Regions from separate parts of the Homo sapiens genome. Here all the other regions are linked to region 1. The links are contacts of gene promoters, found by promoter capture Hi-C in human tissues and cell types (Jung and others, 2019). All regions are on one chromosome and are shown on one strand. Each heading gives the region's core, a stretch centred on a gene start or on the middle of the fragment in contact. The rest is flanking DNA. Distances are from core to core; before and after follow the strand shown. Region 1 holds the start of ZNF30 (zinc finger protein 30). Region 2 holds the start of LOC124904700 (a long non-coding RNA gene). Region 3 overlaps LINC00904 (long intergenic non-protein coding RNA 904).

What was found. Contacts are between HindIII fragments. The study calls those that stand out against the background at their distance.
Region 2: a contact is called between a fragment that was not itself captured here and the fragment with the promoter of ZNF30 in region 1, in 3 of the 25 tissues and cell types used here (aorta, dorsolateral prefrontal cortex and stomach).
Region 3: a fragment that was not itself captured here is called in contact with the fragment with the promoter of ZNF30 in region 1 in 4 of the 25 tissues and cell types used here (H1 embryonic stem cells, dorsolateral prefrontal cortex, mesendoderm cells and 1 more).

What each region holds. Positions count from the first base shown.
Region 1 is chr19:34,925,097-34,928,791 of GRCh38, reverse strand. It overlaps ZNF30 (zinc finger protein 30), which reads right to left and starts at 1,889. Exons shown (of 5, transcript NM_194325.3): 1 at 1,576-1,889. It overlaps ZNF30-AS1 (ZNF30 antisense RNA 1), which reads left to right and starts at 1,966. Exons shown (of 3, transcript NR_110749.1): 1 at 1,966-2,063. The HindIII fragment of the contact is 21,653 bases long and covers 1-3,695 here.
Region 2 is chr19:34,970,542-34,974,236 of GRCh38, reverse strand. It overlaps LOC124904700 (a long non-coding RNA gene), which reads left to right and starts at 610. Exons shown (of 2, transcript XR_007067237.1): 1 at 610-1,053; 2 at 1,608-1,871. The HindIII fragment of the contact is 3,713 bases long and covers 1-3,388 here.
Region 3 is chr19:34,889,313-34,893,007 of GRCh38, reverse strand. It overlaps LINC00904 (long intergenic non-protein coding RNA 904), which reads left to right. Exons shown (of 6, transcript NR_187844.1): 6 at 712-1,176. Among named protein-coding and RNA genes, the nearest start is that of LINC00904, 14 kb to the left of the region's middle. The HindIII fragment of the contact is 4,130 bases long and covers 1-3,651 here.

The DNA.
Region 1 (3,695 bases), core at 640-3,139:
TGCCCAGGCTGGAGTGCAGTGGTGTGATCTTGGCTCACTGCAACCTCCACCTCCTGGGAGCCTCCCAAGTAGCTGGGATTACAGGTGCCCACCACCACGCCTGGCTAATTTTTGTATTTTTACTAGAGACAGGGTTTCACCATGTTGGCCAGGCTGGTCTCGAACTCCTGACCTCAATTGATCCACCCATCTCAGTATCCCAAAGTGCTGGGATTACAGGCGTGAGCCACCGCACCCGGCCACCATAATTGAGTAATAGCAATAACTAATAATAAAATAGAACAACTATAATAGCATACTGTAATAAAAGTTATGTGAACATGGCCCCTCTCTCTCAAAATATCTTATTGTACCAAAATCACCTATTTTCAGATCATGGTTGACTGAGGGTAACAAAGTGAAGAAAGTGAAACTGCCGATTAAGGGGGCACTACTGCATTGGAGTTATTACGTAAACATTATACATCCTTTATTTCATTTTAATTAAACACTTGTTTCCACTTAATTTAATTTATGTATCTATCTATCTATCTATCTATATATATATATATATATATATATATATATATATTTTTTTTTTTTTAGAGAAGGGATCTCGCTCTGTCGCCCAGGCTGGATTGCGGTGGTGCCATCTCCACTCACTGCAACCTCCGCCGCCTCCCAGCTTCAAGCACTTCTCCCACCTCCGCCTCTCAAGTAGCTGTGACTACAAGCGCACGCCACCATGCCTGGCTAATTTTTATATTTTTAGTAGAGACGGGGTTTCACCATGTTGCCATGTTGGTGGTCTCGAACTCCTGAGCTCAGGCAATCCACCCGCCTCAGCTTCCCAAAGTGCTGGGATTACAGGCATGAGCCATGGCACCCGACCTGTTTCCACTTTTTACTTAAAACGTAAGTTTCTCTGGCATGCTTTCTTTTAATTCTAACTAAAAAATTAAGAGCAACTCTTCTTTAAAAACAAACAAATAAAAAACCAACAGAAAAGATTCTCTGACATTTCAATTTCCTCTGTCCCCTAGCAGCTAGAGAGAGAGAGCTACTGCTGTGGGATAATGCAAAATTGAAGAACCTTAAGAAAAAGCTGGGTCCTATTTCTGTGCAATATGGAGATTGATGGAAATGTTTACAGCTGTCATCTTGCTCTCCTTTCTTACATAATTTTGTCATTAGTTAAGTAATCTGCACAACAGATCCTTTGAAGTCCTTTTCCCTGCACTGATAATTTTCAGATGACATTGCTCTCATCTTTAAAAGGTGTAAATACTTTATACAGTTTTTTCCAAACAAGAAGAGGCTTCCTGGCAATCCCATTTCTTCCCGCTGCATGCAAAAGGTATCATAACTATCGTTTCCTTTTTAAACTGAGAGTTGAAGAGTCTTTTGCTCCTTTACATAAATCAATTACAGTGATTTTATCCAAAATAGTAACAAATATTAATAGCTCAGGTTCGCATGGAGGCCATGCACCCAGTCTTCGCGGATGCACACCGGCCCCGGCCGACGCACCCTCCCTGCCCTGCCGCTCCCGCACTCGCCGGCCCGGGATCCTCGCCCGGTCCACCCAACGCTCACGCATGTCTCAGTCCGGGTTCCGCGCCGACACAGGTCTGCAGAGCTCCCGGTGCTGTGTTCGTTTGCAGAAATTCAAGTTGCCCGGCGGGGCTGCTCCAACCTCGGAGCTGGGCGCTGACTTCTCCCTCGATGAACTCCAAAGCTCGCTGCCGGGTCAACGACCACAATGAACTGGCGAGGAGGCAGAGATTGAGGTCGTTCCAGTGGCCGCTGAGAAATGTAGTTTCAGGCTACATTGGCCGGATAGCTGCAGCCTCTGGGAAATGCAGTCCTGAGCCGTCACACCGCCGAGCATGCCCGGCGCAGTCCACAAGGCCGCCCACCGGCGCCCGGAGACTTCTGGGCGCTCCCGTCCGGCTGAGAATGCGCAGGCGCAGGCGCTCGAGTTGCTGGGAGCCATAGACCTCGAAGCTGGGGCGTCTGACACCTGAGGCCCGAAGTAGGTGGCCAGCTTCTTAGAGGGCCAACCCAGGGCATTAACACACCAGGTCAGAAAAAGCAAAAACAAAAACAAACAAAAAATGATAATCTATACCAAAATATGTTATTACTTTAACACAAAAATATGAAAACTAGGTGTTTGAAATTATCTTTCCGTACTGTTTGCTTTTCGCTACAGAAATGCTATTATTTAACAGAATATTAATAGGATTAATAGTGGCAATTAGACTAATCACGTGTGAGAAAAATATATTTCTGTCCTCTGATACAGGAATTTTAAGTTTCTATTAAATATTTAAATTTTGTGGGTTCTATCTAAGATGCTAAATGTAAGACCTTTTAAAAGGAGAATGTAAATAAGGCTAATCAAACAGATATTAACTATATGTAATAGGCATTTATCTTTCTGTCCCATCATACGTTTAGGAGATATTTACTCTTTCTGGTTCCTTTTCCAGTAACACCTCTCTGTATTAGCTGCCTGTAGCCTTTATGGCATTCTTCTTTTGGTTTATGTAATGCTAAAACTGAATACAGGCAAACGTGAAATTCACCTTGACTGTCAGCTCCGCTTTTTGTTTGTTTTGTTTTTGTTTTGTTTTGAGACAGGGTCTCCCTCTGTCGCTCAGACTGGAATGCAGTGGCGCTATCTCGGCTTACTGTAACCTCTGCCTCCCAGGTTCAAGTGATTCTCCCACCTCGGCCTCCAGAGTAGCTGAGACTACAGGGGCGCGCCACTACACCTGGCTAATTTTTGTATATTTTTTGTAGAAATGGGGTTTTGCCATCTTGCCCAGGCTAGTCTCGAACTCCTGGGCTCAAGCGATCCACCCGCCTCAGCCTCCCAAAGTGCTGGGATGACAGGGTGAGCCACCGCGGCCAGCCGAGCTCTGTTCTTATTAAGCCCACATTACAGTGATTCCTGGAGTCAGTCCAGGGTGATGACATTGATAAGGAGGTGGGGAAGGGGAGTGCTGGGGAGGGAAGGGCGGGGTCCCTTTAAATGATATGGAAGGGGGAAAGGGAGGTGCTGGGTACAGGAGGGTGTGGTCCCTGGCTAGGGCTCCACCCCTGGCCCTGTGCCAACTGACCTAGGTGAGGGCAGGCATTTTTGTTTTCCTGCCCAAATGTTGCGTTTCCCAAGACCACCCTGGCCTGCCACGCCCCCATCCTGTTCCCGCCCCCATCCTGTCCCTATAAATACTCTGAGACCCTAGCAAGCAGACACACAAGCCGCTGGACATCCAGAGGAACATGTTGGCGGAAGAAGACATGACAGACGCTGGCACGCGGGCAGGCCACCCACCAGAAGGACGCGGAGTTTGGCTGGGGCAGTCCAAGGAGAGCCGGTGCTGCGGAGCAGCCCGATTCCAGGGGAAAACCATTTCCCTTCTGGCTCCCCCAACTGTTGAGAGCTACTTCCACTCAAAACCCTGCAGTCATCCTCCAAGCCCATGTGTGATCTGATTCTTCTGGTACACCAAGACAGGAACCCCGGGATATGAAAGCCCTCTGTCCTTGCGATAACGCAGGGATCTAATTGAATTGACTAACATAAGCCGCCTGCGGACAGCTAAAGAGCATCCTGTAACACGCCCACTGGGGCTTCAGCTATAAACATTCACCCCTAGACACTGCCATGGGGTCAGAGCCCCACAGCCCGCCCGTCTGTATACTCC
Region 2 (3,695 bases), core at 283-2,782, 46 kb before region 1:
CTGAAGGCCCCTGAGGGCTGAGGTCTTGCATTCCAGGAGACCCTTGAGGGTCAGGGTTTATGTGTTTCTCCTATGCCTACACACACAGGTGGTGTGGAGTTGTTCCATAGCACAGTTCCATTCATACACAAGGTTCTTACAGTGTGCAATGACCCAGGCTTGCAGCCCTTCTCAACCTTAACTGCACAGTAAAATCCCCAGGGAAACTTTTAACAATCCGGGCAGCAGGCTGCACCCCAGACCAATGCAATCAAAATCTCTGGGGGTAGTCCCTTGCATCAGGGATTTTAAAAGTTCCTCTGGGCCAGGCGCGGTAGCTCACACCTGTAATCCCAGCACTTTGGGAGGCCGAGCTGGGCAGATCACTTGGGGTAAGGAGTTCGAGACCAGCCTGGTCAACATGGTGTAACCCCGTCTCTACTAAAATACAAAAATTAGCCGGGCGTAATGGTGGGAGCCTGTAATCCCAGCTACTCTGGAGGCTGAGGAGGGAGAATCGCTTGAACCCGGGAGGCGGAGGTTGCAGTGAACAGAGATCGCGCCATTGCACTACAGCCTGGGCGACAGAGGGAGACTCCATCTCAAACACACACACACACACACACACACACACACACACACACACACACACACTTCCTCTGGTGGTTCTAACACGCAGCCAAGGTAGAGAACCACTGAGTTACAGCCTGGCCCTCAAGGGTGCACACCAATTGCCTGGGTGGGGGAGTTGACAAAATGCAGATTTTGATTCAGCAGGTCTGGTTTTAAGTCCTGAGGTTCTGCTTTTCAAACAAGTTCCCAGACGCTGCTGCCGCTGGTGGCCGGACAGCATTTTGACAGAAAGGGGCGGGAGCACAAGCAAAGTTCCCTGGGACCGGGATTGTGGTTCTAGTGCCCTCTGGTGGTCAGGACCTCCCTAGCAGCGCCCTGCAGAGAAGAACTGATGATAGAAGCCCTGGCTAACAGAATTTCTGGCGGACACCTGGATTTCAGCCTTGTAATGACCGGAGCAGAACCCAGCCAAGCCTGCTTGGACTCCTGACCTACAAAACTGTGAGATAATAAACGGGTGTTGTTTAAAGCTGCTAAATTTATGGTAATTTGGTGTGCAGCAATAGACAAGAACAAGCTTCATCGTAACAGGCCAGCTGAGAAACCCAAACCCACAGGCTCGGCCCAGTGACCTTGCACGTCTCTTCTCTAGTTCAGGGAGATGGATTCATTCCCAACCTCCTGCTCTCATGGGAGACGAGGTGGAAAGGATTGTACTTCTTGCTGCTTTATTTTTTCATGATTGCTGACTTCTTTTCATCCTACGATGCTTGTTGTCACTGACACCCGTGAAAGCTCAGGGGTGGGATGGTGGTGGGGTTGTTTGCTCTCTGTGGCTGATTGTATTTTCCAAAGGTGAATGCACGGATATATCCTATGCCACATGCCCTCCTTACAATGACCTCGATGACTTGATCTCCTTCATGGAGATATGGGATTTATGTTCCCATCCCTTCAATCTAGCAGGCCTGAGACTGTGGCAGGAGTGACCCCAGGTGACTTTGAAGGCTAAGTCATAAAAGGGGATAACTTCTGCCTGGCTCTCTCTTTCTCAGGGTGCTCATCCTCGGAACCCAGTCTCCATGCTGTGAGGAAGCCCAAGCAGATGCACAGAAAAGCCACCTGTAGGTATCCTGGTCACAGCCCCATCTGAGAGCCAGCATCAATTGCCAGACTTGTAAGTGAGAGAGCTTTCAGAAGGTTCCAGTCCCCTGTCTTCAAGTGGCCCAGCTGATGCTGAGTGAAGCAGACATGAGCCCCAGTGAGTCCTATCCAAGTTGTAGATTCGTGAGCAGAATAAACATTGCTTTGATTCTGGAGCAGTGGCTCGTGCCTGCAATCCCAGCACTTTGGGAGGCTGGGATGGGATGAATGCTTGGGACCAGGAGTTTGAGACGAGCCTGGACAACATGGAAAAACCCTGTCTCTACAAAAAATTAAAAAATTAACCAGGTGTGTTGGTATGAGCCTGTGGTCTTAGCTACTAGGGAGGCTGAGGCGGGAGAATCGCTTGAACCCGGGAGGTCAAAGCTTCAGTGAGCAGTGATTGCACCACTGCACTCCAGCCTGGGTGATAGACTGAGACTCTGTCTTAAAAAACACACAAACAAAAAACCCCAAACCAAAAAACCCCCACATCGCTCTAAGCTGTGAAACTTTGGGATGATTGTGGTGCAGCAAAAGACAACTAGAACACTGTCAGGTTTTTCCCGAGGACAAAACACTGAATTTGACCCTGTGTAGGGGTTGGGGTGAGGAAGCTTTGGTTTTGATAAATTACAGGTGAATTACCTGTTTTCCATTAATTACTATTTTTTGTTTTGTTTTGTTGAGATGGAGTCTCACTCTGTTGCCCAGGCTGGAGTGCAGTGGCACGATCGTGGCTTGCTGCAATCTCTGCCTCCTGAGTTCAAGTGATTCTGCTGCCTCAGCCTCCTGAGTAGCTGGGAGTACAAGTGCCCACCACCACGCCCAGCTAATATTTTGGATTTTTAGTAGAGATGGGGTTTCACTATATTGGCCAGGCTGGTCTGCAACTCCTGACCTCAGGTGATACGCCCGCCTTGGCCTCCCAAAGTGCTGGGATTACAGATGCGAGCCACCGCGCCCAGCCCATTAATTACTATTTTTAAAAGGCAGTCTCGTAAGAAACTAAGCACAGTGCTTATAAACCATTAGGAACTCCCCAGAAAGTTTTTGGAGTATTAGCATTTTTATAACTTTTTTTCTTTGCCACTTAATTCCCTTAAAAGATTCTCTCTTTAAATAGTTCTCAAGGAGAGTCCAGACCCGGGGGGAGGGTAGTTTGAGATATTTTTCTCTCGGGACCTCCCCACTGGTGTTAGGCAGACTTCTAAGAGGGCCTCCAACAACCTCCACCTCCTGTTTGGGTGCCCTTGTGTCATTTTCTTCCCTTGAGTGTGGGCCCGACTTTATGACTTTGCTTCTAACCCAAAGAATATGGCAAAGGTGGTGGGAGGTGGCTTCCATGATGAGATTACAAAAGATTGTGACTTCTGTCTTATGGCAAACTCAACTGCCTTCTTGGTTTGCTTGCTTTAATGAAGCAAGCTCTCCGTTCTGCAAGGCCCAAGAGGGAAGGAATTGAAAGCAGCTTCAGGCCAAAAGCCGGGGAAGAACTGAGGCCCTCAGTCCGACAGGTTGTATGAAGTGAATGAACTTGGAAGTGACCCCTTTCCAGTTGAGCCATGAGATGAGATATTTGTCCTGGCTGGCACCTTGATGGCATTCTTGGGAGAGACCATGAAACAGGGAACCCAGCAGAGCCGTGCCTGGGTTCCAGACCCACAGAAACGAAGAGATAATAAAAGGATGTTGTTTTAAGCCTCTGCGTTTTTGGATAATTTGTTGTGCAGCAGTAGGTTACTAGCACACCGACCCTCCTCTGACTCCTGCAAATCATTTCTGTGTCCGAATCCCACGCTGCCACCATGCTCAGGCTAACCTGCACCCACCCTCCCCACACACATCAGGCATCTCAGCTGAGTGCATCTCCATGAAGCATGCGTTTCAGTTACACCCACCCTGGGTGTCTGTACCTGCATTTGCTAAAACTGTGTTGGAACACTCGACCTCATTCCTCACCCCTTTGTGTTGGGAACAGGACCCCCAAAATCTGGCCA
Region 3 (3,695 bases), core at 337-2,836, 35 kb after region 1:
AAATTTGTTAATTTTGTTTCCCTAACACACATCGGGGGTGGTCTGGCGTACGACCAAATCAGAGTGATGGAAGAGGAGCACAGAGGGAAAAGGCAAGGGAGGGTCACCCATCCCTTCCTCCTTTGAGCTTCCCTTCCTCATGGCTGCTATCCTTTACATCAAAACACAGAGATGTCAGATGTCAGCCTGTGCAGTTGTAAAGTGTGGCTATGCCACCTCCTATTTGCTGAGCCATAGAACTTTGAAAAGTTACATCTGCCTCAACACAGCACCACTTATAGAAAGAAGTCAATTCTTCTTCCACCGTTGACTAAAATAGAAAAGACATGTAAGCAGAGAGGATCAATGAACAAAAGGAAGGCATTCTCTCTCTCTCTCTCTATATATATATATATACACACACGTGATGTATATATGTATATATATACACATACATATACATTATATGTGTGTGTATATATATATACACATATAACATATATGTGTGTGTATATATATATGTGTGTGTGTGTTTATCAGTCTAGGAAAGAAAGAAAAGGGCCCACTGAGGCAAATGGGCTGGACCAAAGGAGGCAGCTACAGGCAGCAAGGGGTCCTGCCAGCGTAAGATGGCAGGAAAACTGGCCCATAGCTTGGTTCTACCAGACTGAGAAGTTGAAACTGGGTATGGTGTGGTGGATATACTTACTGATCTTTTTCTTCTTTCCACAGTAGACTGCCTCAAGGCCAGTGTGTTGACTTCTGACCAGTCTCATCTGAACCCACACCCTTTAACATATATACAAAACACCTGAAGGGTTGGGCTGCCAGCTTTCTTTAGGATGATAGAGGGCAGGTTAAGTTTGTTTGACATAACTAGAAGAGGTGGAGCCTCTTCCTAATGGAGCAAGGTCCATTTATGGCAAACTGTGGTCCCCCACCACTATCAGCTACTTCTGGATAGCTTTTGCTTAAAGTTGATGAGATATTGTTTCTTTCACTAGAAGAAAATGAATGAGTTGGTGATCCCAAACTTTGGCCTCCAAAGGAAGCCTGGGCAGGTGACAAATGTGTCCTAAGCGAGACTGCTGCTTCCATGCTCATGCTGGAGGTACATTTGCCCTGAAAGATGGAGCAAAAGTGCTGAAGCTTAGCACAGAGGATTAATGAATAAGAACAAGGCTATGTTATATCATATTTGTATAGCAATCTGGAAAAGAAAGAACGGGGCTTGTTAAGGCAAATGGGCAAGACAAAACGGGATATCTATAGGCAGCAAGGGGTCCTGCCAGTCTAAGACTAATGGAAAACTGGCCCATAGCCAGGTATTTTCTCAATGGTGTTCACTACACCAAGTCAGAGGGCTACTTTGTCTAGATAGAGCCCAGGTATTGTGAGTGAGTGCAGGAATAGAAGTGTCTTCCTAAAGGTGTATGTATGGTGTTCTCCTGGGAGACTGTAACAGATGTGCCCTGGGCAAGACCACGCCAGCAGCTGTCAATGATGCTGAGCATACAAATACCCTGGAGCCCAGGAATGGGGCTGCCTCCGCCCAGTGTATCACCTGTGCTCCAGACTGTGTACCCCAGGTCCTCTGCCAGTAGCATCTCCAATCACAGGTGAAATGCCAGCCCTTCAAACAGCACAGGTGGGCCCTAGGTGTCTGATGGAAGGAATGAACAGATATATCACGTGGCATGCATTTCTTCTCAGTGGTGCAGGTATCTCCAGCAGGTTTGCTCTGGCCAGGTGGGCCCCAGTACTTAGACCATATGCAGGAAGAGAAGACTCTCTAAAAATAGGTATGATGTTGGCCCCTTCCATTGCAACACACGTGCCCTGGACAGGTGGGATTCAGGTGTTCTGGCTATAGGTAGGAACATAAAGGCATCCGAGCATAGATGCAGTGCTGGTCCCTTAGACTGCAACAGGTGTACTTTAGTTAGGTGTGCCCCAGGTGGCTTGACTGGGGCAGGAAGAGAAGGATCTCAGCACAGGTATGGTGCTGGTCCCTTCCACTGGAACACAAGTGCTCTGGCCAAACAGGTCCCAGGTGATCTGAACAAAAGGGGGAACAGCCATGTCTTCTGAAACACTCCTTCTCAGTGATCACAAATCTTCCAGTAGTAGTAGGCGTGTTTTGGCTGGGCTGGCACCAGGTGCTCTAACTACAGGTGGGAAGGAAAGTGTTTCCCAGGGCAGATTTGATTTGCTCTCAGCAGTGCCGGCTTCTCCAATTGCAGCAGGAGTGCATCAGGGCTGACAGGACCCTGGCGCTCAGGTCTAAGCCTCCCCCATCATGAGCTGTGGTACTGGCTGTCCCCCAGCCATTTTGCTCCAAAGCTAAGCGATCTAGATGTGGTGGTAGACTCTGCGTGGTAGACCCAATGACCCCAAAGCTTTTGCTATCCATAAGGGCTTCAGATCCCACAAATACAAATTGGCTTGGATTGGCATCAGCAAGAAATGAGCAACAGTCCTCAGTGTTGTGCTTTCTGGTAGCATTTCATGGCAAGAGTAAGAGTGTCCACACCAATGGGTAAAACACCCGAGGCACCACCATGGGCTGCCTGAATGCTGACATTGATGCCAAAGTGGACACGGGAGTGTTTAGTTCCCAAAAGCCAACTGAGTTGTGCTGCCATTGGGTTCTAGGGCTGCAGTAGAGGTTAAGTGTGAAGGGTTTTCAGGGGCTGGCAGGTTTCTCAAAGGGAAACAGCTGTTAACATTGCAGGGAGAGACAGGATGATAACAGATGGGGACATGGGCATGGTACCCATGTTGATTTCCTTAGAGGCAAAGTCAGGCGGAGACACCAAGTCTGAAGACGGGTTGTATACTGGAGTGGAGGTGACTGCAGAATCAGTGGTAGGTGGGCCAGAAAAGACAGGGCACTGGGGGGAGTGGTTCTCTGGCAAGGCCCTGAATCAGGACCCCCAGATTTCAGCTGGTAAGTGTTTCCTGAATCAAAAGCAAGCTTAGAAGTTCAAGTAGGGCTGCTGACCATAAAAGCAGGTGGGCTGGTGGGGATGATGGCCTTTGCAGGGGATATCCGCTCCACACTGGGATGGGCCTGGTCCAATGGGAGGAAGCTCACCCCGGATCTTGAGGGAGACCTGAAGAAGAAAGCTTGGAAGGAAGAGTACTATCCACATCAATTATAACACAGTCCAGGCAGGCTGGGAAGTCCAGTCTGCAGACAGGCTGCCTGGCATGCTAGAAGTGACTGCAGAAGCAGTGATGGGTTGGCTGGTAAAGACAGGGGTACTGGTGCAAGCAACTTGAGGAGGGGTCTGTAAGAAAAGGGGAGGAGAATCCACCTGCACAGGTGTATATGACTCCATTCTGCAGAAGGTAAGCTTTAAGGAGAGGGAGAAAGTTCTAGGACGTGTGGGTTAGGCAGAAGTAGAGGATCCCGCAAGTATGACCGAGGGACTGGAATGCAGAGGGCCCCTGTTCTCATTATTAAGTGGAATAGCAAATATAGGTTGGAATCCAAAGTGAGAAATAGCAGGAAGAGCAAAAGGAGAGTCAGGAACTGTGCATCTCATTTCATGATCAGTATCTGATGTGTGTGTAGGTACAGGGTCAGAGAGTATGAGTGGCCTAACAGGCCAGCCAAGTCAGTGACTGCTAATTTGGTAGTTTCTGGAATCTGCAAGGAAAAGGTGACCAATGGCAAAGGATCTGTGGCCTCCACAGCAGGTAGGGAGAAC